Regions from separate parts of the Homo sapiens genome. Here regions 1, 3, 4, 5, 6 and 7 are each linked to region 2. Evidence: promoter capture Hi-C in 16 types of primary human blood cells and fetal thymus (Javierre and others, 2016). All regions are on one chromosome and are shown on one strand. The core of a region is centred on a gene start or on the middle of the fragment in contact, and the rest is flanking DNA. Distances in the headings are between cores, read along the strand shown.

Region 1 (3,381 bases), core at 323-2,822, 410 kb after region 2:
GATTACAGTCACCCACCACAACGCCCAGCTAATTTTTGTATTTTTAGTAGAGATGAGGTTTAACCATCTTGGCCAGGCTAGTCACAAACTCCTGACCTCAGGCGATCTGCCCACCTCGTCCTCCCAAAATGCTGGGATTACAGGTGTGAGCCACCACGCCAGGCCCGCAAATGTTTTATGATGACAAAAAAAGGTTTAGTACTGCTAACTTAACTGATGCTTCTAGGTAGTTGATGATCATCATTCTCTTGCTTTATTTCCAAGTCTACGTAATAAAAACAAAAATAAATAAAATTTTCATATTAAAGCTTCAGAACCCTAAGTTGAAAAAAGAGATTCATACTTAACCGCAGGTCTTTTGGGTGCCTACAATGTGTCAGACATGGTGCTAAGTGTTGGGTGTAAAGAGAGTAGGATCCAGACCTCACCCTCAGGGATGCACGACCAAGAGTACAGAGACTCACTCCAGACCTGAAGGCAGTGCTGAGAAGAGGCAGAGAGGTCTCCTCTCTGAGCTGAGCATCAGATGTTAAACTGTGGTGTCTTTCCTTATCTGCCCCAGCTCTTACCCCACCTGCCTGTAGAGGGCCCTGTGCCAGCAAACCACAGGGTTCTATTAGGAATCCCACCACAGTGTCAGCTCCTTTAGCCCAGCTCTGTGGTGCCTAGTTCTCTCTTCAGTTTTCCAAAATGCCTAGGACCTGGCCCAAAACCCCAGGCACTAAACAAAAAGGCTTAACTGAGCTCTGGCAGTCACTAGCTGTATAGTTTGAGCAAATTACTTAAACTCTGTATCCCTCAGTTTCTTCATTCATAAAATGGGAAAACGCCTACATCATAAGGTTGTTTTGAAACCTGAATGAGTTGATACATGTAAAGCACTTAGAACAGCAACTGATACATAAGTGGAGTCTAATAAATGCTCACCAGGCTATTTCCTCAGTTCTAACACAAAACCTAATACAAGGCTTAAATTATTCAAGGCCCACCTTTGCTATCTATTGGGTATGATTTGAGAATTTAACACAATACTGCAGCAATATTTGAATAATGCTCCAAAAGCAGAAACCAACCTATAGAAGCATCTATGATTAGCTCTGGTCAGATGTCAGAAAACATTTCAGGCTATTCAAGTGTCAGTGCTCTCTATGGGAGGTTTATTAACAATACAGATGTTCTATATTGCGTTTTTTAGTGAGACACAAATACACGGTGTGAAAAAATTAAGTATTTTAGAGACAGACTTTTTATTGGTGTATTAGAAAGATTTCTCATGCTCATTCAATCTCTCTATCTCTCTATCTCTCTTTGTCTTTCTCTCTCTCTCTCTCACACACACCCTACCCCACCCCCACATCTTATATAATTATGTTTCCTGCAATCTTAACAATACTGAATTACATCAGTGTTTCTCTATGCATAAGCCTGCAACTTAATTGTAGATATTAAATATATGTCATAATATCTCTGCTACTTATTAGTGATCAGGATATACACAGAAATACACCTTGAAATGAATGAGAGACTTTGTAGCTCCAATATTTTTATTTATTTAACCAACATTTACATAGTGCATATTGTGTTCCAGACACAGTTCTAAGCACTATTTAGCAGTAATTCATTTTATCCTCGTAACAACCTTATAAGATAAAACTGAAACACAGAGAAATTGATCAGTTCGCTGAAGTCTCACAGCTGGTAAGGGTTGGAACCTGGATTCAGAGCAGGCTCTCTGGCTGCAGAGTCCATGTTCTTCACCACCACTCTCTACTAGCCAGTCAACTTCATTTCTTTCAGACCCCACAATAAAAATAAAAATGAGCTTCTCTTTGAGACTATGTTATGGAATCTCCCCTTGATAAAAAATTCCAAAATGCCAATCCTCTCTGCATTCTATAAAATTCTAAAATTCTTTTATTTTCCACTAGAGGTAAAGAATTCTAAAATTCTTAACACAAGGTGTTAGTGCTCAATTGGCATTAATTAGTGGCTATGATGATGCATAAAATTTAGGTTTTAAAACATTTTTCAGTCCCTTTCTGTACTGAGCTGGAGCTTGAGTGATGGGGTGCCCAGACAGAAACCAAGAAAGATCCAAGAATCTTAGGACAGAGAAGGAGCCATGAACTCATGTAGTCTAGCCTACCCATTCTGCAGACCAAACTGCAGATAAATCAAATGACTTGCTCATCATTGCAGAACTACTTTGTGTCAGTGCTAGGACTAGCGCACAGAACAAGAATAAACAGGGGCAGTTTAGGAAATAGTCTTTCTGGAAACTCTTAATTTTTCCCAAGCCCTAGAGCTCTTTTTTTATACCATGTTCCCTCTCCATTCACAGAAACTGAAGTAAAACTTGAGATATCATGCCAGTCCTGGAAGTCAGAGTAGTGAAAAGTCCAGAATCCAAGTTAAGTAGGGCTTGAAGAATTCACCTGTGCCAGAATTCAAAGCAAGCTCAATAACCAAAACTAGAGAGCCAAGCTAAGGTCAAGCCAAGAGGAAGATACACTAAAGGGTGAGGCAAGACAGGAAGCTCAAGTCCAGGCAAACTGGAAGGTATGGAGTTAGGAAGAGGTAATTGGAATCGCAACAACCTGCCCATTTCAAACCCCACAGATGTTTAAGAATGTCTCAAACTTGGTGGAGGGTGCGAGCTCACCCTAAATAGCACATCCCTTTTGAATAAATTAAGCATCAAGTTTACCATGCAGACTGTATGGAATTTTTCAAGATCAAAACCACCAAAATCAAGTTAAATGTCCACTTCAAAAAAAATAGGCAAGATTATGAGTTACTGCAACTCATCTGATAGATCTATGCACAGTAAGCTTGTTAGCATCTTACTTTATCTGCCAGTGAAGACTGGAGGACTGAGCTGATTCAGCTGGGAATTGAACCTGTGGTTCCAGGAAGTCTAGATATTTCAAACCTCATACTTAGTCCATTAAGATATCCCCTCCAAGAACATAATGTAGTTAAAGTAGACTTAGATATCTTTAATACAGAGAGTGGATTTTATTTCCACTTTGGGAATTTCTGATCCATAATAGAGATATAGATGAAACTTACCTACAATAGTGCCTATAGAAAAATGCATGCATGTCAACATATACTGTCACTTTTCTGATTTATGATTAAGAAGGAAAAAAAAAACGTATCTTGGGGGAAGTGGATTACAAATACTTCTGCTAAATGGAGGCTTTATACATAACTCCCTTCTCTTATTCTTTCTAAAGATCCATTCTTGCCTGTCTCAATAAAATAGAATAAATTATACTTACTCAAACAATCTGAAGAGAGACCACGGATTTCACACATCTGTCAGGTGGGTCAGTTTATTTGGGGGACAGTAGGGGAACATCCTGTACCATTACAGGC
Region 2 (3,210 bases), core at 212-2,711:
AGCAGTAAATAAAATTTATCTCCTTGACTGCCTTGCAACTTTCTACTCAGTTTGGCAATGTGTAGATGGGGTCAGCTTGAGTTTCAGAGCTTGGGGGTCCAGCACTAAATGTCTAGAGAGCTAGATCTGGGGCCTCTCACCCCCTTTCCTCATATACCTCCTCTTGCTTCCTTCCCCTCCCAGGGCTTCTCAGAAAGTGACAGCTGACTTCCTTTTAGAACTGTGAAATCCCACAATTTCAGAGGATTTCAAATTCCTTGAACTTCAGGTTGAGAGCTATTTGGATTAATCAGAGAAGTTTGTGTCTGGAAAATGATGCCAGATTTAGCCAGAAAACTGAAAGACCAAATGCTTTACTTTTTTTTTCCTTTGTCTGATCTCAGTGCTTATCAGGTCAACCTTCACCTTTAAAAACACCCTGGTGGCAGTATTTCTTTGCCATCACTGTCTGTAAAGCAAAGGGCAAGCATCTCAGGGCTTTTAGTTGGGCCGGGAATTCAAATGTCTCCTTTCTCAAGAAGATGCCAAAGTGGCCACCCTCAGCCCACTTTCCGTCCTTACCTCCTCTGCCCTTTCCCCAGCTGTAGTTATAGGAATAATGGCCTTTAACTTGCAGAGATCATTAAGGCCAAAGCCCTCACTCCTTCCCATCTCTCCTCTTGGGGCCGTCTGAGTCGCTTCCTCCACGACCCTCCTCTTTTGAAGCACTCCCTAGTACTGTTAAAGGCCGAATTTGGGCTGGAGCGAAGATGGGGGCTCAGTCCAAAATAACCTAGATATTAAGTAATAGTAATGATTTTTTTAAAAGGTAACTATGAACTCTCAAGCCTCGACCACCCAGTAAAGTTCCTCCTTAAATTGTTGCCGGCCCTGGGTGCAGACACGCAAGGACTGGCCAGAACGCGAGAAACTTCTTCAAGGAGAGAGAAGTCAGGGCCCAAATTCCTCATGCTTTAAAGCAGTATAAGAGGAGAGAGTCCAAATTTTTACTCGTTAAACCTCCTCTTACCTCTTCCTCAGGTCTGTTCACTCCTTGGTCCAGGGACCGGAGCTCCTGGGCTTCGAGGTGAACCAGAGGGAACGTGGCTCCCCGCAGCAACCTTTTTGCTTCAGGGCTCCTCCTGGGGGCTGAGTGGTCCCCTTTGCTTTGCTATTCCCGCTGCGGCTCCTGGGGGGACAGCTCCGTGGGACCAGGTCTCTCAGGGGGTGGAGGGTCGCCGAAGTCGTGACCAGGAGTTGGAGACCGCTGCGTCCCTCCGCTGCGGACCTGCCTGGGACTGCGTGGAATGGACCAAGTCCTCCGTCTAGGATTCCCTAGTGCTCGACGGCGCGCACTCCGCAGTGCTCCGCTGGAGATCTGCACCTGTGTCCCGGGGCTGGGCGCAGAGTGAAGATCTCCGTGCACGCTGCTGACCGGCTCGGCGACTGCCTCCCTGCTGTGAGCAGGAGAACAGGAAGTCTGCCCGACAGGGAGGTGGCCGGGCGGGAGCGGCAGAGTCGGCGTTGAGAGGAGGGTCAGCTGCACCTCGGGATTCCGCGCGCCTTCAACTCCCTCTTGCGGACAGCCCAGCCGCGGGTTGGCGCCGCAGTGATGGAACCTGGGGAGGGCCTAGCTTAGAGTCCCAGCAGTCCAGAGGAGGGGACCAGAGCAGAGGATTAGGAACGGGGCTTTCATATCCAGCCTAGGCGCCCAGAAGCGGCACTTAAGGGGCGAAGGGAGGCCGCAATTACAAAGGTGCGCCCTCCGACGCCTCAACGTCAAGGGCCTGTAGATTCACAACCTCCTCTGTCGGGGATGGGGGAAGATGAGGTGGGATAGGGAGGCTATGTCCAGCCACCAGCGCAGGGAGTGGCTCTAAACGCTGACCCAACGCCTCGCCCCAAGCGGGATCTTGGCGCGCAGATAGACCGAGCCCGTGGTGGGGCGCCATGCCGGGCTCCCTCGCCCTTACCGAGTGAGCATCTTCTTCCCAATTTGCTGCTCAGAGAGGGAGTGGGTCCTAGTCTCTGGATCTCAGCGCTCACGACTACCTCGCTGCTCCTAACGAACGGTTCATCTGCTCTCTCCTGGCCGCCTGCGCCAGCGCCGCTCACCCACTTTTCCAGCCCTGGATCTCCTCTCCCCGGATGCGTCCTTCCTTCCCACAATTAACAAATGATCTAGCGAAACCCCGCCAGGTCCCCGGCAGAGAAGCACCTCCATCCGCCCTAACCAACCAATTAATCAGATCATTAAGGAGCCTGAGGAGTTGTAATTGGGTGGTTTGGGACGAGGGGGCGCTGAGGAGGTCATTAACCTCCCCGTAAAGATGGGGAACGGAGACGCGCCTGGCCGCCTCTGCCGCCCCTGCCGCCCCTGCCGCCCCTGTGGGCTCTTCTTAGCACGCGGGTTTTGGCCACTCCACCTGCCTGCTGCGCTCCAGTTCCCGCCTCCAGTCCAGCTATTTCACTTCTCTCTTTGTCATTCTCCGTCTTTTCTCTGGCAACCGTCCAGGGCCCCTTTCTTTGTGCCTACTTCTGTCTACCTGTCCAGCTGCCTCTTGCACCCTTTCTGTGGCCCAGCGGCCAAGAAAACTCAAAGGTCATGGCTGTTGGCCCCCGCTGATGATCTCTGGGCTCCCGGGTCTCAGACAATTCCTCAGGGCTGGCTAGAAATGGTGGGAGCTGGAGATTTGGACACTATACCCATTCCCCAAGAGAAGGGCATTTGCAAAGGGGAAGTGTTTCCTGAAACGTTCAATTCTCTTTCGGTATGAGATAGCTTTGGACAAGGTGACAAATGGCGGAAGGTCCAGGCCCCAGTGGATAAAAGCTCCATATTAATTTAATTAGAGACACAGAGACCTTGCATACTCCTTGTCTGCACAGGCAAATATGGAGGAGGTAGTGATTGGGTGTTGTGGCCTGACTGGTCTCAGTCTAAGAGTCCCCAGCACCTGTGACCTGGTTCCTGGTGTTCCAAGAAGTCCAGGTGACAGTATCTGTTCAACCTTGTGGAACAATAAATTGTTTGTCCTTTTAATTTGTCTTGTCAGATCCCCAAGTATATTACAATGCCTCCCTCTGCATTACATTTTTGGTTGGTTGTGTAAGAATGGTGGATGAGAGGTTCTTAACATTTTGGGGCCACTCCCTGATATGATAATTTAAATTTTGATGAACAATATTGATTCCCCTCTACCCAGAAAAAAAATGTGCGTATGTAGTACT
Region 3 (3,156 bases), core at 449-2,948, 460 kb after region 2:
GGTTTATGAAAAGAAATAGAGGATATAAGCACAATTGGAGGCAATTACAAATAAAGACAAGCTAAAAATTATTATTATAGATGAATGCAAACTTTCGAATAGGGGATACTCTTCTACAGAGTTGGACTGCCCCAGGAGTAATTCTAAGACGCAAGAGGGAGACAAAGTTTAAAAAGCATCAATTCTTCTTGGGGCTTTCCTTGTACTGTGCACCTTCGTACAGAGGCCAGCGATACAGTTTGAGTAGACTCTTCTTTTTCCTTGCAATCATTTTCTGTTTCTCCTTCCTCAAACTTAGTGCTTTCCCAGTGCCTGGATATCCAATATAGGGAATAATCAGACACCCACCCAGTTGCCTTTGTACTTCCTGCACCTGTGGCACTAAGGTAGTGGAAAGAACTGCAGCTTTGGGCCAGGCACAGTGGCTCACGCCTGTAATCCCAGCACTTTGGGAGGCCAAGGCAGGCAGATCATGAGGTCAGGAGTTCAAGACCAACCTGGCCAACATAGTGAAACCCCGTCTCTACTACTAAAAATACAAAAATTAGCCAGGCATGGTGGCATGTGCCTGTAGGCTGAGGCAGGAGAATTGCTTGAACCCAGGAGGTGGAGGTTGTGGTGAGCCGAGATCACGCCACTGCACTCCACCCTGGGCAACAGAGCGAGACTCTGTCTCAACCATAAATAAATAAATAAATAAATAAATAAATAAATAAATAAATAAAAACTGCAGCTTTGCTAAGTGACTTGAAATCCTTAAGATTTGCCCAAGCAATTGTCTCACACTGCCTGCAGTAGTTATCACAGACCTTTGCCTACCTTTCACCATCCTAGATTCCTCAGAACATTTCGCATCTAGGGGCAAAGGCTAAAGCCCTGTTTGGGAAGGATAACAGCATAGTTTGTAAACTGAGCTACAAGTCCTCTGTGTCCTTCCAACCCCCAGCCCACTCTCCAACCCAGCAACCACAATTTCTCCTCTAAATTATAGGCATTCAATCCAGCCAGTTGTTCTTTTCTTATTTTAAAACTTCAAACTAATATGACACTTCTCACTGTAAATATGTTCATCATTTATTTTGCATTTAAATAAGTGGTTGGCATATCTAGATATAAAACCAGGTGTGTCACATCTGTTCATTCAGAATCTTCCATACTCACGGTGAGAGAGGAGCAGGGAGAGCAAGAGCAAGAGACTCGGAAGCTTTTATTGACCATTTTGCCATTAGGGTGAAATAAAATCTGGTGACCAAAGAAACAACAAAACATTTTAGTGGCCAGTTAGAACAAGGAGAGATACTTTAACAAAAAAGATTCTGGTGTCAAAAAGCACTGTTCCATGGCTCCCTTCTCGCCAGTTATTTCTTACTGTGCCCATGACATTTTCTTAGTAAGAATAGTGTTTGTGTATTTCTTTTAGCTCAACCAGGTGAGCACAGTCTTTTTTCTTCTTCTTTCTTTTTTAATATTGGCATCGCACTGCCATCCTTGTCATCATTATCATCATCAAAAGGCATTTATTAAGCAATTCATTTCACATGATATAGAGCTCAAAGCATCCCAGACACTGTGGTTCCTGTTCTCTGTGTGTTCTGCCTGACCCACACAATGAGGATACAAAATTCTTGAGAGTCACCTCCTCTTTTTCTGTTTCTAACATTTTTTTTAAGTAGTGACAAGCAGAATAGTCTCTCTTCACTTATGGTCCTTTTCCTTTTATCTCCTTCCTCGTCATCTAATAATACTCAACGTTATTCTGCTACTTCCCAGGTTGACCTCTTACAAGGAGGATAAAATACTGAGTTTTAATTATTCTCCCTCTGGCATAAATTCCCACCTGACCAGCAGGGAAGGGGAAGAGAAGTTTAGCCCAAATGCTACATAGGGCATGGGAGGCGATTCTGGGACCTTATAATGCCCCCCTGTGCTGCTGTCCCTCCCCTCAAATGTGAGCTCTGCTGGCCCTGATAATAATGTTTCAGCTTTATAATAGCCTTCAAGAGCCTCACATTTACAGCCACACTCTCTCTGCTGTAATAATTCCTTCTTTCTGTTGTTATAGATCTCTTAACATTCTAATAAATTCTCTGTCTCTGTTGTACTCTTTTGGCAAAATAACCTTTCACGTTGCATTTCCCTAGCTTGGCAGTGATATCTGCCTTACTGTCGCAGTAGCCTCTTCTTAAGCTTCTCTAATAACCTTTCCTTGACTATTGTGGTTCCTCAGGGATGTAACAGCTGTTTCTGTGCTTTTATTTTACATACCAGAGAGGATGCCTTCCCTTGGCAGTTGCATCTCTCTAGGGATACAGGGAGCTTTCCTGTCTTGCAGGCAAGCAGCCCAAAGGGACCTTCCTCATTAAGGGCTACGGTGTACGGATGGCCCCCCACCTGCGAAGAGATTCCAAGAAAGAATCCTGCTTTGAACTGACCTCCCAGGATAGGCGCAGCTATGAGGTAGGACGCATCAAGGAGATGGTGATCCTTCTTGGTGTTGCAGTTTCCTTCTGTATTGCATGTGAGCCATGGTTGCTATGCTGGGTTCCAGCCTTTCTTTGTTACCTGCTCATTTCATGCCAACGAAGACCCTATTTCTTGGCATGTCCTCATATTTGCTATGCCACACCCTCCCCTCTGTTGCCACTCTCATCTTAGATACAGACTTTGCTTGGCTTCCATCCTTCATTCCTCCCCTTCTCAATTTCACTTCATAGGTGAGATGCTTGTCAATTGCAGCACACAATCAAATTCCTTACTTATAGTCTCCGATTTTATGGTTTAAATTCCCATTCTCTTTATTCTTCGACTGATTTTCTTCACTTCCTTCCATGAAATCCCAAAAAAAGATCTAACTGTAGAGTGAAAAAAAATTATTTTCCCATGTTCATCTTGCTATCCAAAATAATCTTCCTGTGTGTAGATGCTTTGCATATCTCTGGAAGGATTTCTAAGATATTGGTGACGATAGTAACAATAATAATTGAAGGACTAGAGGACCTGGTCGGGGCAAGAAAGACTTATTCCGTACTGTGCTCAGTTTGAATCTTTACCTCATTATAAAATTAATGTGTTTTATTTTATTTTTGCCATCTTCATGCTGAATGACCAATAAAATTTAAAAATTTCTGACTGTGGAAATATAGTGATTTTCACCAA
Region 4 (3,362 bases), core at 266-2,765, 400 kb after region 2:
TTTTCTGCAGATGTGGAGGTATTTATTTATTGTGCACTAGAATTGATGGTTCAATTCAGATAGTTGGGTTAGAGAGAACTTTTGAGACTGCGAGAGGTATGAGTCAGGGGGATGGGAAAGGTTGTTTAATTTCCTTCTTTCTAACATTCATTCATACATTAATTCAACAAATATTTACTAAATGCCTTCTGGTTAAGACTGTTCTAAGCATTCCAGGGATAGACAGAGGTGTCAAAGGCACATGAGAGATGACGTGGGAGATAAGTTATGCACCCAAGTAACTGAAATTCAAGAGGCTGTGTGATAAGTACTGTAAGTACATAGCAGCTCCAAGGAGATCAGTCAGTTTAGATTAGAGTGATGAAAAAGACCAGCAGGATTGGGTGATTAACTCTCAGAGATCTCTGCACTGTTAGGAGACCTGAAATGTGGTCCAAGCTGTAGCTTGATGTCTTTGGGCAGATCACTTAATCTCTGCATGCCTTAGTAAAAGGAGAAATTAGATCATTTAGTCTCTAAAGCTCTTCCAGCTCTAGAACTCCATGAAGAACCGTATTTGAATCAGGCTTTGAAGGATGACTATAAAAATAAAAAATAAAATAAAGCTTTATGGTTTGAATGAGAGAACCTCTGCTATGCTATGATTTTAACAGGTAGAGATAGGGGAAGATAGAAGTGAGAATAGTGAACTCCAGGGCAACGGGGCTATACCCACAAAGGTGTAGGTGTGGGGAAATGTAGAATGTGTTCAGGAAACACCAAATAGTCCGGTCTAACAAGGGTTACTTAATTGTAGGAGGATGATGAGAGGAGACAGTAAAGGTAAACCAGCCTAATTTTTGGAAACCTTTGAATGCTAGTCTGAAGTATAATATTCAGCTTAATTAAAGATTTTTAAGAATATAACCAATATCCTTTGCTTTAGATACAGTACGGATAATGAAATTACCTAAGTCTTCCATTTTATATGTGTGTTAAAATGTACAGAGCCCCTACAATGTGCCAGGCTCTGTTCTAAGTGATTTATGTATTTTAATTTATAGCAACCCGTTGAGAAAGGCATTATTATTGTAAATTTTTGTGGGTTTTTTTGTTGTTTTTTGTTATTGTTGTTGTTGTTGTTTTGAGACGGAGTCTAGCTCTGTCACCCAGGCTGGAGTACAGTGGCACAATCTTGGGTCACTGCAACCTCTGCCTTCTGGGTTCAAGCGATTATCCTGCCTCAGCCTCTTGAGTAGCTGGGATTACAGGCATGCACCACTACACTGGCTAATTTTTATATTTTTAGTAGAGACAGGGTTTCACCCTGTTGGCCAGGCTGGTCTCGAACTCCTGACCTCCAGTGATCCACCCACCTTGACCTCCCAAAGTGTTGGGATTACAGGTGTGAGCCACCGCACCCGGCCTCTTATTGTACATTTTATAGATGAGGACATTGAAGCACAGAGAGGTTAAGTAACTTTCCCAAAGTCACACAGCTAGTAAAGTGTCAGAGCTGGAATTCAAACCCATTTGTTATAACTACCATAGAAAACTTATTATAGTAAGTGCTGTCTTCATTTTTCTCTCTTTAAAGTCACATGTTATCTAGAAGCACATGTAAAAATTGAAAGATTGAGTGAAATAAGCCAGTATGGATCAGTCGTTCTAAAGCATAATAAAGGCACTTTTAAACAATCCCTGTTGGAGCAAAAGTCTACTTCTCGTAATCAACAGCAACCTGTCACTATCGTAATTTTAAAAGACTTAACTATTTTGTCAGAATGTGTTCCTTAAAATGATGCTTTTACAAAAAGAAAAAAGAAAAAAAAATCAGATTGTGGGTTGTGTTTTAGAAAGACTACAGTCATTTTTGGTTGTAATCTTATATCCCAGAAATTCAAGAGGGGCAGCTGCTCCAGCCAAGTCAAGGAGGAAGATACCTACTATTTTCCAGGTTCCTACCATTTTAGATTCTATAATTTTGGAGCTGCCAGCAGTACTTCAGGCAGATGGTTTCCCAAGTGTAAAACTGTTCCCCAGGAAGGAAAGAGAGTCAGGTTACTCCTTCCTCATGAGCCAAAATTCTGAAAGTAAAGGGGTGTGTTCTTTCTCTAACCTTTGGCCTAAGCATGACTTTGTATTGAGTTACTACTCCTAGAAATCTTCTGTTTTCATTTTCTACGATTATGGTCCAGGTTTTAGACTCAGGAACAAATGGCAAGCATCCATGCATCATTTGGAGGTTCTAGAAGAAAGAATGAAAGCCCATGACACTATTCAGCTCTTTTATTTTGTTTGGATGTAAATATAAGTTTTAACTAATTATTTGACTCATTTTCCCTGTGAACGCATCTTCTTTTAAGTGGATCTCCATGCTTTTTGCTAGGCAGTTTGGTCATTTCTTAGTCTGGCCAAACCCTTTCTTTGAGGTTTCCAAGCTTCCTTTGGAATATTATAACTGTGTATCATCAGCAGAATTTTCAGTTTTCTTTCCCCCAACTATTTGTTAATGTTTGCTGAAAGGAACCTTTAACAGGAAGTAAACTTGCTTGGCATGGCCCAGCTGTGAGTGAAGCTTGAGTGAGAGGTATTTATGACCTGACAGGAAGATAAAGATAAAGATAAAGATGAAGCTGACTTGGTGGCTGTTAGCAAGGGGAGAAGGAAATGTTTATGACCCCATCTGCTGGCGTTTCAATAGGATAGAACTGCCTTTATGGCGTCAATCTCCCCTGTGACTTCCTTCCATTTGGGGAGTGTTATCTTATTTCAAGATGTTCCCACCGAACACACTGTTGTCCCCTTTGTTTAGGGGCAAAGGAGGAAGGAAGGACTTTGTTACTGGAATGTGGGGATGGGGCAGTATTTATGGTTATGACTCAAGCTGGAGAAAAGGCTTCATTGGAGTTGACTGTATAGTCCAGGAAAGCTGCCATGCATTCTGCTACTTCCTTAAACATTATCCACACTGAAAGCAGAACCACATTAGCTCTGGTCATTATCAGGCATTAAGGCTAACCATTTTCTAACATTATTATAAGTAGAATTAGTGTAGCTTGATTTCATTGCACACTGTGGGGAAAATAATTTTATTCTCTTAGTTCCTTGTTTCTTGTCTTTTATTTAACATCTCTTCTTTTTCTTCTCCTGAACTTTTTTCTTTCTTTTTCTTAGAGGAGGAGACATTTAAAACCAACAGGTGCCATATCTGCTTAGTTCAAAATCTATGTACATGTAACAAAAGCAGAATGAAATGATTCCTTTCTTAATGCTAGCCCAGGTTAAGAGTCTGCAGATAGGTTGATAGTCCTTTGTGAGGTAATACATTTTTAAAGTGCCAAAAATGTAGGAATATTTTTAGAATACAATAGCTTATGCAT
Region 5 (3,144 bases), core at 276-2,775, 480 kb after region 2:
TTCAGACGGCTGCCAGAGTAGTGTAAGCCTAAAGGAATCTAAATCCAGCCCATAGAGGCAAGCCTCACCCTTGGGCTCTCAGTTCCTCTCTCTGCTCTACAGAAATCAAAGTCGGCCGGGCACAGTGGTTCATGCCTGTAATCCCAACACTTTAGGAGACCGAGGTGGGCGGATCACCTGAGGTCGGGAGTTCAAGACCAGCATGACCAACATGGAGAAACCCCGTCTCTACTAAAAATACAAAATTAGCTGGGCGTGGTGGCACGTGCCTGTAATCCCAGCTACCCGGGAGGCTGAGGCAGGAGAATCCCTTGAACCCAGGAGGCAGAGGTTGTGGTGAGCCGAGATCATGCCATTACACTCCACCCTGGGCAAAAGGAGCAAAACTTCGCCTCAAAAAAAAAAAAAAGAAAGAAAGAAAGAAAGAAAGAAAAGAAAAGAAAGCAAAGTCTCCTCATGCATTCTCTTGTTTATAGGATGAGTTGGGCAGGTTTAGGGAGAAGCTGGACTAGCCCTGCAGACTCTGGGCTTTTAAGCTCTTCCTGGTGCCAAGCTTCAGGAATGAAGCCCTCCTCCAACTTATCTCTTCCCCTCTTCAAGGTCTTTAACACCCACTTGGCCAGAAAAGCCTTTTCTGACCCCTCAAACTATGTTAGATTCCCTATTACACACAGCGTCCTCAACTTCTCCTTCACAGACATATCATAATCATAAATAAACATTTGTGTAACTGTTTTTTCCATGGTGCTTCCCCGACTAGAAGGTACCCTTGAGAGGAGGGCTCATGTGTGGCCAATGTGGGATTCCCAGTATCTAACACAGTCCCTGGCATTTAGTAGGTACTGTATACATGTCTGTTGGATGATGAGAATGAATTAGTGAAGTTGCATGCACACATACACATAAATGCATATCACATGTGTGTTAAACAGGAAGTCTGCAATATGGAGTCACCTTGCCCAGCTAAGGAATTATCCCTCACTGATTTCCTTAATAGAGAATACTTCTAGCTAGCTAGCAAGTTCAAACTTTTCCCAGTTTTTAGCCCTTCATTCTGCCTGTTTTTTTGGAGCTGTTCTACTTCTGACTGAAGTTCCCTATTCTTGGGCTGAGCTAAACCATCTCCTGGATTCCTGAACTCTGTCTTCTTTTGGCCTTTAATATCAAAGACCTTTTCTATCTTTATTTTTTTCCTGGAAGGCTTCTGTTTTTCTCCTAGCTTCTTGCTTTCCCTGTGATCTTTTGTGCTTTTAGAATAGATCTTTTTCCAGATGTTCTCCCAGGCCCATATATACCCAATGTCAAATCACTTTTTATGTATACACCAAAAAGGCACTCAATATTAGGACCTATCCCATATCCAGGCACACAGTAGGGAACCGTACTCCAAAGTGACTATCTGCTAGGCCAGAAAAGACCAAGATAACCTTGTTAGTCTCCTTACCACTTAGAAATATTGTTATGGTTTTAGAATCTATTTTTACAAAAATGGTTTTCTCTACCATATATAAATCCATGAAAAATATTGATGTTAATATTCTTTCATTCCTGAGTTTAGTCAAAATCTTGGGGTAATTAATCAACTCCATTAAAATGGAAAATTCATAATATATCCTCTGGGAAAACTACTTTCACTTTTCAGGGATTGATATTTCTCTATTATTTCATGTACTTAATATTTCCAAAAATGAATGCTTTGTCTATTCAATAACTAACATATTTCTCCCAAAGTATTTTTCTTCCAAACATATTATCAACTCTGTGGCAGAATGTTTTCACAGTAGTTATCTTGTTTGCTGCCCTCTGTTGTCTACTGCACACACAGACAATTTTATGTGTGAAGAAAACATGCCTGAATTTCTATATGGTTGACATTTTTACTTTTGTTTGCAATATCTGAGTTTTAACTAAATAGTTCTCTCCCTCCTCTGTTTTTGTACCCTTTAAGATTCCTACCAAAATTCTCTTCCAGAGACATATAGGGATTTTGTCCCTCCGTGCCTTTATTATTTAAATTGCTCGTAAGTCAGGAATAAGTAGAAAAAAAGCAAATATAGGGAGGGTGTCTGTGCCCCTACTGCCCACTTGCCCTATCCTCAGCCACCAATACTATCACTGCTCATGGGAGGGTAAAATGAATAAAGGGAAAGGTGGAAATCTATAGAACAGAGTCCCCCAAAATCATGTGAATTTTAATTAGAACCCAGGACTCCTGACTCCCATCTATTGAATTTCATCTTTTGTAGGTGCTTTGTTCACAGCTCTGATACAGAGCACCCCAAGGAAAAAGGAGCATGCCTGGTCTAGTGGGCATTAGCTCTCCTGCCATTCAAATCCCCAGATCCTCTCCCACTTTGTACTCTAGTGTTTAACCTTTCCGGGTAGAAGATCAATACAAATTCTTCATTGTTAAGAATCGATGGCTGTCCTGTGGCATCATTGCCATCTAGTTCTGCTGAGAAGCTCAGTAAATCTCTCCAGCTGCTTCTAAAGCTTGGTTTGTCGTCTTCAGTTGCTTTCATTTTTAATGCAGATCACTTTGGTTTCTGTTCCCCTGGGGCTTGCAGATAAATCTTGGCAGACATGTTCAAGGTCTACAAATGAGATGCTGGAAAAGGGCCAGCCCACCCAGAATTTAGTTGTAATGGATGAGACACCCCCTTGGTTCCACTTAAAGACTGGGCTATTCGTTTCAGTATTTATTGGTGATTACCTCATATAGTACCTAGGTGGGAAGTTCCCAGGACAAAGTTCCTATGGACAAAGAAGGCCGAAAAGTGAGCTGTGATCCAGAAGCCTGCTGGCTGACTAAGCCTTTCTTGTAAATAGGCAGAAGTCACAGATTTACTCTGATCCTTCAAATGCATAATGAAGAGAAAAACTAGATAGTTAGTTGCCCTGGATCAGGAAAGTCTGGCGGGAAACCTCTGCACTGCTTACTTACAAACCAAGTGAAAAATTACCTGCCTGATTTTCTTTTATTAATAAATAAATATATTTATCATATTGTTGAACGGCATCCTACTAGGAGTGATCTGTAAATATTTAATGTTAGTTAATGATCTCCTTCTCCCATAGTCCTTTGCTCATGCTGAGTGTTTGGCTGTATCTCATCTCAACTCCCCTTAATCTGAGGTTTCCTAG
Region 6 (3,392 bases), core at 107-2,606, 440 kb after region 2:
ATTGCAACCCAAGTTTATACCCTGGGCTTCTGACCCCAAATTTCATAATGGGATTCCATACCTTTTATTCCTTATGAAATAAAACAGCTCTCCAGTGGAAAGAGACCTCCTGCTTTTGTGGGTCCCCTTGCAATGTAGGAAGAGCTAAGGCAAATTAGACGTATGGTATAAAGTACAATATTAGAATTGTAAATGAGTCTTAAAATTACATACAGACTACAGATTATTAAAGTATTCTTAAGACAATATCTAATTCAAATATAACTTTATGTAAATTTTTTTTCTTTTTTTTTTTTTTTTTGAGACAGAGTCTTCCTCTGTTGCCCAGACTGGAGTGTAGTGGCGCAATCTCAGCTCACTGCAACATCTGCCTCCCAGGCTCAAGCAATTCTTGTGCCTCAGCCTCCTGAGTAGCTGGGATTACAAGCATGCATCACCACATCCAGCTAATTTTTGTATTTTTAGTAGAGATGGTTTCTGCATGTTGGCCAGAACTCCTGGTCTTGAACTCCTGGCCTCAAGTGATCTGCCTGCCTCGGCCTCCAAAGCGCTGGGATTACAGGCGTGAGTCACCATGCCCAACCTGTGCAAGTGGTTTTAATAGCATTGTTTCTCTTCATTCTACACTGGTTTCTTCTTTCTTTTCTGGATTCCTTTGCCACGTACCTTCATACCAAGCTTAGGAATTTTGTGTAATCAGCCACTCAGAATGGACATCATTATATAAATATGGAGACATGGCTGTACTGTGAAATGGTTGAAAAACTATTTTTAAAATTTTCTATTTTTATTTTTATCAAAATAATGTATGCATATAGTTCTTAAAAATCAAATAAAGCCAGGCACAATGGTGTGTACCTGTAGTCCCTTGGGAGGCTAAAGTGGGAAGATTACTTGAGCCCAGGAGTTTGAATTCAGCCTTGGCCACATAGCAAGACCCCATTTCCAAAAAAATTTTTTTTAATCAAATAATACTACAAGCAGTCACCCTGGAGTTCTGCTTTCCAGAGGCAACCCCTTTCCATTTTTTAAAAATTAACTTTTTCATCCATTCTGATGTGTCTCTTCCACACTTCTAAATAATATGATTAGACAGCTATTTTTTTAGTTTATCAATTTCAGACATTACCTATTGATTTTATATTATGATAGGGGAGGAGTCAGCATTCCTATTCCATCCCAGCCATCAATTCCCCATTCTTCATGTTTCGAGTGTGGTTATATCATAATTTTTAGTTAATCAATATTTAGTGTTTACATTAACTATGTAAATATTATTTACGTCAACCCTTATAAAATTGTATAATTAAATTTTATTTCTTTATTTTTTATACCAAGGGGTATAAAAAAAAACGTCTTTATTTTTTACCCAAGAGGACTGGGTTCATAGAGCTTCCAGATAACTGACCACGTGGAGGTTCCTGGAGGGTAGCATAGCCAGGGAGGACATGGAAGCTCCACACCCCTTCCCCCATACCTCACCCTATGCATCTCTTTACCTATATCCTTTGTTATATCCTTTATAATAAACCAGGAAATGTAAAAAAAATTCTTGTTTTTCCTAGAGTTGGCAAATGCCTTGACTTTCTTCATTTGCATAGTTTTCTAAGTCACCATCCCTAATTCTTTCCAAACTTTGCAGAATTGTAATTTTCCACATTATCAAACACACCAGATGATCCATCAGTTCCATTTGTGCTTCTAGTCTCTCCTGGAGATCTCCATCCTCCTCCCCACTCTGGGCTGGCTGCTCTCAGGCCTCCTGCACAGCTGTCATCCTGGGACTTCCCTTTCATCCCTTTCCTTCATCAGAGCACCACGTTCTGGACCCAATGTCACCTTTTTTCTTGGTGGACTCCCTCATTTTGATGGAGCACATATTGTGGTGGCATCCTGAGAAAGGATGCCTGGGAGGTCAATTTCTTGAGACTTTGAATGTCTGAAAACCTCTGTATTCTACTTTTACACTTAACTGTTAGTTTGGGTGTGAGAATGCTAATGGAAATCATTTTCCCTTAGAACTTGGAAAGCTTTGCTTCATTGGCTTCCAGCTTTCATTGTTGCTGTGGAGAATTTCAGTGCCATTCTGATTCTTAATGCTTTGTATGACTTGTTTCTCCCCCCTGATTCAGAAGGTTTTAGGATCTTCTTTTTAAGAATTCTGTTCTGAAATATCACTGTGATTACCAATATGTGAGTCCCTTTTCATTCATGTGCTGGGTGTATGGAGGACCATGTCAATCAAAAGATTCCTATCATTTTGAGAAATGTTATTATTTCTTTGATAATGTCCTTCCCTCTGTTTCTGTGTTCTAATACTTTTTATCTTTTCTGGTTTCCTTTTCTTGATCTTTTTGTTCTATTTAAGATTTCCTTGGCCAGGTGTGGTAGCTCACGCCTGTAATCCCAGCACTTTGGGAGGCCGAGGCACGTGAATTGCTTGAGCCCAGGAGTTCTAGACCAGCCTGGGCAACATAGCTAAACCCTGTCTCGACCAAAAAATCCAAAAATTAGCTGAGCGTGGTGACATGTGCCTGTAGTTTCAGCTACTCAGGAGGCTGAGGTGGGAGGATTGCTTAAGCCTGGGAGGTGGAGACTGCAGTGAACCAAGATCAAGCCACTGCACTCCAGCCTGGGCAACAGAGTGAGACCCCATCTCAAAAAAAGAAAGAGACAGAGAGAGAGAGAGAGAGAGAGAAGGAAAGAAAGAAAGAGAGAGAGAGAAAGAAGAAAGAAAGAGAGAGAGAGAAAGAAAGAAAGAAAGAAAGAAAAAGAAAGAAAGAAAGAAAGAAAGAAAGAAAGAAAGAAAGAAAAGAAAAGAAAAGAAAGAGGAAGGAGGGAGGGAGGAAGGAAGGAAGGAAGGAAGGATTTCCTTGACAAGTATTTCTACCATCTTAAATCATGCAACATTTTAGTAGTTGGTCTTATGGAACTCTTAGCTTTGGTAATGTGGGATGTGCTGCTCAGATTCTGCATCAGAGCTATTCTTGTTCCTCCTTTCATGTGCTCTACACAGTTTGACCCATAGAAGTCCAGCAGTCCCACTCAATGTCTGGGGCTAAACATCCCTGTGAACCTCATACAGCCCAGGTACCTGTCTCTTCTCTGGTAATGCCAAAGATCAGATCCCATTTTAAGGCTGAATATCCTGGACAACTCCCAGGCATAATGGCTCCATTTAGTAGTATATTACTGTAGCCATTCTTAGCAGAATGGGGTTCCTAAAAATCATGAAATTTGGGCTGAGAAATATAGAATTAAAGCATTATTCATCTTGACTTTATAGTTAGGACCATAACATACATTAGATAAAATGTGTAGCATGGTGTAGCCAAAACAAAAGGAAAAAAAACTGGATTTGGAGCTTAAAAATACCTGAGTTTTGGCTGGGC
Region 7 (3,336 bases), core at 200-2,699, 500 kb after region 2:
ATGATCCAGAGTGGTGCAATTTGGCACTTGGAAACGAGGGCTTAAACATGATTGCTGTGAGTTTAATGTTGTTTTAATTCTTTTTGGCACTGTGCAGTGAAATAAACGTTTGGTGGTGATAGTTCTCGGCCGGATCTCATTTGCATTTTTCTCCCTTTGATTATGAGCAATTGTGGACTCCCCAGCAATTCATCAAAGTAGAAATTATTTTAAAATACCTCGTGGTGTTCAGACTGGGCTGGAGCAACGCATGGGGGTGGTAGTGGGAGAGAAGGTTAGAAATTTTCCATTCATGCTTTAAACATCTCAGCCCTGCAGCCCTTTTCGGGTATACAGCCAAGGGATGAAATCTGGAAAAGACAGTCAGATCCCGGGACCTGTAGGTGCTTTGATTAAGCTCCCAGGCTCCCACAGCAGGATGCATATGGTCTCTGGGACTGTGCCATCCTCCTTACACTTCTGCCTGCTCTTTTGTTTTGAAGGGCAGAGAGTTGATTTCACTCATTTCAGTTCTCATCACTGTGGCGAGGCTTCTACATCTGCAGTCGGCAGGGTCAGTGTTCCCCTGGAGCAAGAGCAGACAGACTGGGAGCCTGGCTTTTGCAGGTACCCTGCTGAGACTCATCTGCTTCCTGTTCGCACCCTCTTCGAGTTGGCAGAGAGCACCTTCCCAAGGCTTCATCCCTACTCCTGGCATTACGACTAAAGAGGGGTGCTACAAAGTGTTAGTCAAAGTTAGGAGCGTTGAACAACCCCCGGGGAGCAAATGCCTTACTGTCCCCTGCAGGTGATGCAGATGACAGCATCTGGCAGGTGGAAGACCACATTTCACACATTTCAGCAAGTTGACTTGGATCAAAAGACTCTCAGACAACACTGCCCACTCTCTGCCTGTGAGATAGCAGAAGAGCTAAAGCTAGTTTTTACGAGTTACAATGTGAGAGGTAGACAGAGTATGTATTTCCCCTTCACAGCAAGGCAACACTACAAGAAAACTTAAGTCAGAAACTGCCCTAATTTCAGTGTCGGAAAATGGACAGTAACATATCTTGTACCAAGAGGAGCTTAAAAATGCCCTGACAGGCTGGGCAGGGTATAATCCCAGCACTTTGGGAGCCTGAAGCTGGGGGATCACTTGAGCTCAGGAGTTCAAGGCTAGCCTAGGCAACATTGCAAAACTCTTATCTCTACAAAAAAAAAATACAAAATAATTAGCAAATAAAAAATAATTAGGCAGTGGCATGCACCTGTGGTCCCAGCTACTCTGGAGGCTGAGGCAGGAGAATCTCGAGCCCAGGAGGCAGAGGTTGCAGTGAGCCGAGATCATGCCACTGCACTTCAGCCTAGGTGAAGGGAGTGAAATCCTGTCTCCCAAAAAAAAAAAAAAAAAAAAGCTAAAGAATTATAGGTAATTTCCCATAAGACGTTGCGAACTGTAGGGAGAAGCTGGCCTGGGAGAGGGAGGAAATGAGGTGTGGTGGGTCAGGCACAGTGGCTCACTCCAATAATCCCAACAAGCAGGAGGATTGCTTGAACCCAGGAGTTCAGGACCAGCCTGGGCAACATAGGGAGACCCCATCTCTACAAAAAAAAAAAAAAAAGTTTTTTTTTTAACTAGCCAGGCATGGTGAAATGCACCTGTAGTCCTAGTTACTTAGGAGGCTGAAGCGGGAGGATCACTTAAGCCCAGGAGTGGTTGCAGTGAGCTATACTTGCACCACTGCACTCCATCCTGGGCAACAGAGCGAAACCCTGTCTCAAAAAACAAAACAAGAAAAGAAGGTGTGGTGTAGGAAGAGGTGGCAGACAGACACATTTAGTTATTTAAGGCTGATTTTCACAAGGCACTTCCCTGGTCCTAAAAGGATCAACTCAGTAGTCTCACTTCTTGTGGCATTTCAGACTCTTATTGTTGTATAAGGAGCCATTTGAGGAGACTGTCTCCAAAGGTAGTTGATCTCTTTCTGCCACAACTAGTTCAATCACCAGGGGAATATCTTGGAGTTAGTTGTAACTAAATCTGCTCAACTAAGAATACAAATTCCCACTGCCCCCTTCATTTCATCATAATCTCATTTAACAAGTTTTTTTGTTTGTTTTGTTTTGTTTTGTTTTTATTTGAGATGGAGTTTCGCTCTTGTTGCCCAGGCTGGAGTGCAATGGCATGATCTTGGCTCACCGCAACCTCCGCCTCCCGGGTTCAAGCAATTCTCCTGCCTCAGCTTCCCGAGTAGCTGGGATTACAGGCATCCTCAACCACGCCCAGCTAATTTTTGTATTTTTAATAGAGACAGGGTTTCACCATGTTGGTCAGGCTGGTGTCGAACTCCTGACCTCAGGTGATCCACCCACCTCGGCCTCCCAAAGTGCTGGATTACAGGTGTGAGCCACCGCGCCCGGCCTCATTTAACAAGTATTTATTTGGCCCCACTCTGTGCTGGATATAGTGCTGAATGCTGAGAACACAAAAGCAAACAAAACCAACAAGGTCCAGTCCTCAGAACTTTCCAACTAGTGATTGACACTGAGACAAAGACAGGCAGATAGAAGGCAGTGTAATCACAAGCTCTTTTCCAGGAAAGCACAGGGCACAGCACTGTGGACCGTGTAACCGGGACCCCACACAGTCAGAGAGTGTCAAGGAGAGGCTTCTAGGGAGTGAGTAACTCAGGAACTGAGATCTGAAGGCTGCTTAGGAGTAAGCCCCATGAAATGAGAAGGGAAGTAGAGGCTAAACAGGCAGAGGAAAGGTTCCAAGGTGAGGGAGCCTGTGGCCCATGGGAGCAGCTGAGACAAGTTCTATTTTACTAAGGAACACTAAATCTAGGAGGTGAGTAACAATGCTGAACAGTGAGTGGGACTGGGTCATGCAGGGCCTTGTCTACTTTGTTAAGAAGTTAAGGGGTGGCCAGGCACAGTGGCTCATGCCTGTATTCCCAGTACTTTGGGAGACCGAGGCAGGCAGATCACCTGAGGTCAGGAGTTCAAGACCAGACTGGCCAATATGGTGAAACCCCATCTCTACTAAAAATACAAAAATCAGCGAGGTGTGGTGGCAGGCACCTGTAATCCCAGCTACTCAGATTGAACCCAGGAGAATCATTTGAACCCAGGAGGCAGAGGTTGCAGTGAGCTGAGATCGTGTCAGTGCACTCCAGACTGGGCAACAGGGGCTATGGCTCAAAAAAAACAAAAACAAAAACAAAAACCAGTTAACAAGGGGCATTGGGAACCCACCGAAAGTTTCCAAGCAGAGCAGTGACATTATCAATGTGTACTGTAGGGAGCGAGTCTGGCTGCACAATGAATAGAGTGGAGAAGAAGAATGCTGATACA

What was found. The method cuts DNA at HindIII sites, captures the fragments that hold promoters and counts their contacts. A CHiCAGO score of 5 or more calls a contact.
Region 1: a fragment that was not itself captured here is called in contact with the fragment with the promoter of LINC02086 in region 2 in 1 of 17 cell types (M0 macrophages); the score reaches 5.8 in M0 macrophages.
Region 3: a contact is called between a fragment that was not itself captured here and the fragment with the promoter of LINC02086 in region 2, in 1 of 17 cell types (M0 macrophages). The highest score is 5.7, in M0 macrophages.
Region 4: a fragment that was not itself captured here is called in contact with the fragment with the promoter of LINC02086 in region 2 in 2 of 17 cell types (M0 macrophages and megakaryocytes); the score reaches 5.6 in M0 macrophages.
Region 5: a contact is called between a fragment that was not itself captured here and the fragment with the promoter of LINC02086 in region 2, in 3 of 17 cell types (endothelial precursors, M1 macrophages and M2 macrophages). The highest score is 6.0, in endothelial precursors.
Region 6: a contact is called between a fragment that was not itself captured here and the fragment with the promoter of LINC02086 in region 2, in 3 of 17 cell types (M2 macrophages, M1 macrophages and erythroblasts). The highest score is 6.1, in M2 macrophages.
Region 7: a fragment that was not itself captured here is called in contact with the fragment with the promoter of LINC02086 in region 2 in 1 of 17 cell types (M2 macrophages); the score reaches 5.5 in M2 macrophages.

Annotation. Positions count from the first base shown.
Region 1 is chr17:48,226,123-48,229,503 of GRCh38, reverse strand. The region is part of intron 4 of SKAP1 (src kinase associated phosphoprotein 1); the gene reads left to right. Among named protein-coding and RNA genes, the nearest start is that of SKAP1-AS2, 67 kb to the left of the region's middle. The HindIII fragment of the contact is 2,523 bases long and covers 311-2,833 here.
Region 2 is chr17:48,640,878-48,644,087 of GRCh38, reverse strand. LINC02086 (long intergenic non-protein coding RNA 2086) reads right to left here and starts at 1,461. Exons shown (of 8, transcript NR_189645.1): 1 at 1-1,461. All of the region lies in intron 1 of LINC03057 (long intergenic non-protein coding RNA 3057), which reads left to right. RefSeq lists enhancers at 867-1,863, 1,864-2,862. The HindIII fragment of the contact is 12,737 bases long and covers 1-3,210 here.
Region 3 is chr17:48,184,024-48,187,179 of GRCh38, reverse strand. It overlaps SKAP1 (src kinase associated phosphoprotein 1), which reads left to right. Exons shown (of 13, transcript NM_003726.4): 7 at 2,333-2,457. Among named protein-coding and RNA genes, the nearest start is that of MIR1203, 29 kb to the right of the region's middle. The HindIII fragment of the contact is 983 bases long and covers 1,207-2,189 here.
Region 4 is chr17:48,243,738-48,247,099 of GRCh38, reverse strand. All of the region lies in intron 4 of SKAP1 (src kinase associated phosphoprotein 1), which reads left to right. Among named protein-coding and RNA genes, the nearest start is that of SKAP1-AS2, 49 kb to the left of the region's middle. The HindIII fragment of the contact is 1,815 bases long and covers 608-2,422 here.
Region 5 is chr17:48,162,669-48,165,812 of GRCh38, reverse strand. All of the region lies in intron 10 of SKAP1 (src kinase associated phosphoprotein 1), which reads left to right. Among named protein-coding and RNA genes, the nearest start is that of MIR1203, 7.7 kb to the right of the region's middle. The HindIII fragment of the contact is 1,940 bases long and covers 556-2,495 here.
Region 6 is chr17:48,204,395-48,207,786 of GRCh38, reverse strand. The region is part of intron 4 of SKAP1 (src kinase associated phosphoprotein 1); the gene reads left to right. Among named protein-coding and RNA genes, the nearest start is that of MIR1203, 50 kb to the right of the region's middle. The HindIII fragment of the contact is 1,352 bases long and covers 681-2,032 here.
Region 7 is chr17:48,141,247-48,144,582 of GRCh38, reverse strand. The region is part of intron 11 of SKAP1 (src kinase associated phosphoprotein 1); the gene reads left to right. Among named protein-coding and RNA genes, the nearest start is that of MIR1203, 14 kb to the left of the region's middle. RefSeq lists an enhancer at 696-765. The HindIII fragment of the contact is 9,940 bases long and covers 1-3,336 here.